Regions from separate parts of the Homo sapiens genome. Here region 2 is linked to region 1. Evidence: promoter capture Hi-C in 16 types of primary human blood cells and fetal thymus (Javierre and others, 2016). All regions are on one chromosome and are shown on one strand. Each heading gives the region's core, a stretch centred on a gene start or on the middle of the fragment in contact. The rest is flanking DNA. Distances are from core to core; before and after follow the strand shown.

Region 1 (2,700 bases), core at 155-2,654:
CAGGCCCCTGGTCACCTTTCCCTGGGTCTTCGTTCTTTGATGTGAGAAGAGGGCAGCTTTAATCCCCCACCTGATAGAGAAGAAAACTAAGCTGTGGAGTAGGGTGGAGTGAGGGAGTGGAAGGAAGGTTGTGGTTTCCTGGTGAGGTGTGATGCTTAGACCTGGTCTCTAAAAATAAAATTAAAGTTAAAAAAAATGAATTAAAAAAAACCGCCTAGTCTCTGAGGTCAGAAAAGACCAACACTCAAATTTTGGCTGGGCGTTCTTAAAAGGATGCTTTCTTCATCTGGAGATATCTGGTGGAGAGGATTAGGTAAAATAATGTATTACTATTCTCAGGGTACCATAAATCCGCTGGCCCGCTCCCTCAGGCCACTGGCCCACGGCTCCACCCATGTCACGCCCCTTTCCCCGCAGCCAATCAGCGCTACCTCCCCAGAGCGCCCGTTCCCTCCACCACTCGCCGCAGATCTCCCGGTGCCACCCGTTCCAGGGAGGCTGCTTGGTTTGGGAAGATACTCCCCAGGGGTCTCCCCTTCCCTTGGGGGCGCAGCTGAGGACTGCGAGGTGCGTCCGAGGGCCAGAAAGCTGAGATCGATTCTGAGTTCAAGGATCAAGTCTGCCCTCAAACCATTTTACAGATCGGGAAATCCGAGACCCAGAGAAGGGATACTCCCGCCCAAGGGCCACCGAGCCGAGAGAAGCCCGGGCCAGGGCTTTCTTCGCGTATGTGGGAATGCAGGCGCGAGCCCTTTGGGGGGCACAGTCCATACGGGAGCTGAGGCCGAAGCCGGAGCACTAACTGTGCTGTCTAGGGGATCGAGACGGCACTAGAGGGCTGGACTCCTTACTGCCTCAGTTTCCCCAGCACTACCTTTGTTGAGGAAACGGAGATGGGGATACTGGCCGAACGCGCGCCTGCTGAGACACAGTGCAACTGTATTTAGACGCCCCGCACCTCCCCAAATCTGATCGAGGCTCCTTTTTTCAAGCACCCGCTATCTCTCAGCCCTTTAAAATCCGGCCCTGCCGTTCGAGTCTCTCGGCGTTCCATTGGAAAGACTCGGGGCTCCAGCTCCCTTCTCTAGAATGAACTGCTCTGACTGCCGCCCGGCTTTACCGGAGCTTTAACTGCGCAGGCGCAAGGGCAGCCAACCCGGTAAACGGAAGAGCTGGGTGCTGACGGCGCTGGGCGGGTCAGGGGCGGAGAGCGTGCTAACCAATGACTTGAGGGAGTAGGGGGCCGGGTTTGGGCCCTCAGTTGCTAAGGGCTACCCGAGTGGGAAGCGGTTCAAGAGATGGGGTGAAGGGTGGTTCACCGGTTCTTCAAGTCCTCAGCCTTCTGGCCCGCGGAAGTTAAGCAACCAAGAGGCGGGCCTAAGACCGGAAGCAGGAAGGAGGGCGCAGGAAGCAGGGCGCCGCAGCCTGTCGTACGGTCCTTCTGTGGGTCTGTCGGTGCCGAGGGCAGGATGGAGAAGCTGCGGCTCCTGGGCCTCCGCTACCAGGAGTACGTGACTCGTCACCCGGCCGCCACGGCCCAGCTGGAGACAGCAGTGCGGGGCTTCAGTTACCTGCTGGCAGGTGCCACCCTGACCTTTGATCAGTTCCTTCTGGGCCCTGACCTATGACCCCAGTGGCCCCCTTCCCTGCGGAGTCAGGGTAGTGATCGCTGTGCTTGAGAAGACCCGTCCAGGTTCCCAAAGGGCGTAGGGAGGGGATTTCCGGGACCCGAAGACGAAATGTGAGGCAGATGCTCACTCACACCTCCTTCTGTACCCTCTCCCCAGGTCGATTCGCCGATTCGCACGAGCTGTCAGAGCTGGGTGAGCCGGGCTCTGGGGGTGGGGGATGGGGGATCGGCTGCCTGGCCCCTGGTGAGTTCCCCAGAGAGGGTGAGCACCCCAGCCCGAGGACCTGGGCTGCCCGTTAGACACCTTGTGCTATGACTGAATCGGCACAAGGTCTGTTGTTCATTGTCCTGGGCCCTCCATGTCCCTAAGTCAAGAGACACGTCTGGGGACCTTATCTGAGTATTCACTACTGGCCAGGCGCTGGACTAAGTGCCTTTCTTACCTTTACTTGTTAATCCTCCCTACAGTCATATTAAGTGGTACTTATTGTCATCACTGTCCATTTAAGGAAGAAGCTCAGTGAGGTTAGAGAACAGTCACTGATGGTCCCAGAACCAAGATTCAAGTCTAGATCTCCCAGATTCCAGGATTCCCAGATTGTAACTACCTCAAGAGTGTTTGCCCAGTGACTGCTGTCACAGTCCTGAAAGAATGCACTGGGTTTTGAAAAGCAGAGGTGAGGCCAGGTGCAGTGGCTCACACTTGTAATCCCAGCACTTTGGGAGGCAGAGGCAGGTGGATCACGTGAGGTCAGGAGTTCGAGACCAGCCTGGCCAACATGGTGAAACCCCATCTCTACTAAAAATACAAAAATTAGCTGGGCATGGTAGCAGGTGCCTGTAGTCCCAGCTACTTGAGAGGCTGAGGCAGGAGAATTGCTTGAACCTGGGAGGCAGAGGTTGCAGTGAGCCGAGATTGTGCCATTGCACTCCAGCCTGGGCAACAAGAGTGAAACTCCGACTCAGAAAAAAGAAAAGTGGAGGTGGAATAGACCCTCAGGAACAGGCTGCCAAGAGAGAAAGGGCCAGGAGGTGGGACCGTGTATCTGTGGCAGTTCAGAGAGCGATGG
Region 2 (2,700 bases), core at 118-2,617, 680 kb before region 1:
CACACCAAAGATAATCTAAGTGCTGAGCTGGCTGAACATTGGCTGACAGTGTTTTTCCCTGGGAGCATTTTATTTTCTAATAATCCCACAGGGAAACTCTTCAGATCTACACCTTTAACCTCCTTTCAACCTGTGGTTTTGCAGGCCAGGATTTTTTTTTTTCTTTTGTCATTGGTTAGTTATTTCCCCAAAATGATGGAGGGGAAGGATCAGGGTCTGTACTTCCAAATTGCCAAGGGTGTCCTCACAGGGGCTTTTTATAAGCGTCTGAGAAAGCTGCTCCCTTTGTGGTCCTTAGTGTGGATTTATAGCTTTTTTCTGGCATGGTTTTGGGAAAGAGTCAAGGATTTTGTCTGTCTTACGTAAGCCTCATTTTCCCATAGATAACTCCATCTGGCCAGCATAGTAGTTTTCCAGATTTACCCTTAGATGTTTCAAGGCAGTAAGGTCTCAGGATATATCAAGGGAAAACAATATTGGGTGATCACCAATTTACCAATTCCAGATTATACAAAAGAGGGACCATAAACATATTCTTGGTTTAAGTTAACTGAATAGGGATGAAGCTGTTTTCCTGATCCTAGGACTGTGAAGGATCTAGACCAAGTTAATCTAACTTAGGGATAAAAAACAAGACACAATTTTAGTGGAGTCATGTAGTGAAGACATAGAAGAAGTGGGTAACGGTGAAAGAGGCTAGACAGATCATAGATATAATAAGATTTTATCTGTATCTGAAACAAACGGAAAATAGCCCAAAGACTGAGCTTCGTAGTTACTTTCCCTGGCAGTGGAGGGGAAGTTAGAAGGAGGACAAGAAAATAAGAAATGAAAGGGTTTTTGTGCATACACATGTCCTCAGGGCCCATTTTGCTCTCTAGATCCTGCCAAGATTTTCCAAAATTGTTGTGGGTATGAGAAATCACAGATTCAGGATTAAGACTTTGTTGATTATGTGGAAAGGAAGGAAAAATACTAGCTGAAGGCTGGGGACATGCTAGTTTCCCAACACATAAAATTAATAGACTTTTTTTTTAATCACACAGAAATCCTTGTTCTAAAAAAAACCTTTTTTTTTTTTTTTTTGAGACAGGGTCTTGCTCTGTTGCCAAGGCTAGAGCAGTACAGTGGAGTGATCTCGGCTTACTGCAGCCTCCACCTTCCAGGCTCAAGTGATCCTCTGACGTCAGTCTTCCGAGTAGCTGGGACTACAGGCACACACCACCATACCCAGTTAATTCTTTTTTTTTTTTTTTGTAGCAATGGGGTTTTGCTAAGTTGCCCAACCTGGTCTCGAAATCCTGGATTCAATTGATCTGCCTGCCTTGGCCTCCTAAAAGTGCTGGGATTGCATGCCCCTGTGCCCGGCCCTGAATTTTTTTTTTTTTTTTTTTTTTTTTTTTTGAGATGGAGTCTCACTCTGTCACCCAGGCTGGAGTGCAGTGGCACGATCTCGGCTCACTGCAACCTCCGCCTCCCTGGTTCAAGCTATTCTCCTGCCTCAGCTTCCCGGGTAGCTAGGATTACAGGCACGTGCCACTGTGCCCAGCTTATTTTTGTATTTTTAGTAGAGACAGGGTTTCACCATGTTGGCCAGGATGGTCTCGATCTCCTGACCTTGTGATCCGTCCGCCTCGGCCTCTTAAAGTGCTGGGATTACAGGCGTGAGCCACTGCACCCGGCCCTGAATTTTTTTAAATTAACTTTTGTAGAGACAGGGTCTCACTCTGTCACCCAGGCTGGAGTGCAGTGGTGTGATTGTAGCTTATTACAGCCTTGAACTCTTGGGCTCAAGTGATCCTCCCACCTCAGCCTCCCAAGTAGCTAGGACTAGAAGTGTACACTACCATGCCTGGCTAATTTTTTTTTGGTACAGACAGGGTCTGACTATGTTGCTCAGGCTGGTCTTGAATTCCTGGCCTCAAGCAATCCTCCTGCCTTGGCCTCTCGAAGCGCTCTGAGATTATAGGGATTACAGGCATAAAGTACCGTGCCCAGCCTAAACTTTTTTTTTAACATGACTACAGGCTGGGCACAGTGGCTCACGCCTGTAATCCCAGCACTTTGGGAGGCCGAGGTAGGCAGATCACAAGGTCAAGAGATCGAGACCATCCTGGCCAACATGGTGAAACCCCGTCTCTACTAAAAGTACAAAAATTAGCTGGGCATGGTGGCGGGCGCCTGTCATCCCAGTTACTAGGGAGGCTGAGGCAGGAGAATCACTTAAACCTGGGAGGCAGAGATTGCAGTGAGCTGAGATCCTGTCATTGCAACTCCAGCAACAAGAGCAAAACTCCAAAAAAAAAAAAAGAGAAAAAAAAATGACTACAACTGAAGGCCTCTTGTGATTGTAAAGTAGAAGAAATTAGATCTCTGGATACTGAACAGGAGAAAGGAGATTAGACTTTGAAATCATAAATTAGCAAATTTCAAAAAGGGGCCTCCCTGTTTGCCCAGCAAAACATTAAGGATCTATTATTCTGTTGACATGTTAACTTTCTCTAATCTTTATGCTGTCTTTTACAGATGGGCTGATTTCTTTGTCATTCTAGAGCCTTAAAATATTCATACATTTTGATCTATTGATAAATTTCATCACTGGAGATTTATCTTATAGAAATAATTCCAAAGAAGGGAGAGCCTTCTATCATTCTACGGCTAGCAGTTCCCTGCTGTTCTGGGCTCTCTCTCCTTCCCTGG

Evidence for each region. The method cuts DNA at HindIII sites, captures the fragments that hold promoters and counts their contacts. A CHiCAGO score of 5 or more calls a contact.
Region 2: a contact is called between a fragment that was not itself captured here and the fragment with the promoter of PEX16 in region 1, in 1 of 17 cell types (neutrophils). The highest score is 5.2, in neutrophils.

What each region holds. Positions count from the first base shown.
Region 1 is chr11:45,916,581-45,919,280 of GRCh38, reverse strand. It overlaps PEX16 (peroxisomal biogenesis factor 16), which reads left to right and starts at 1,404. Exons shown (of 11, transcript NM_004813.4): 1 at 1,404-1,581; 2 at 1,788-1,823. The coding sequence starts at 1,470. RefSeq lists enhancers at 1,580-1,649, 1,596-2,348. The HindIII fragment of the contact is 21,028 bases long and covers 1-2,700 here.
Region 2 is chr11:46,598,041-46,600,740 of GRCh38, reverse strand. No RefSeq gene overlaps it. Among named protein-coding and RNA genes, the nearest start is that of AMBRA1, 5.4 kb to the right of the region's middle. The HindIII fragment of the contact is 5,019 bases long and covers 1-2,700 here.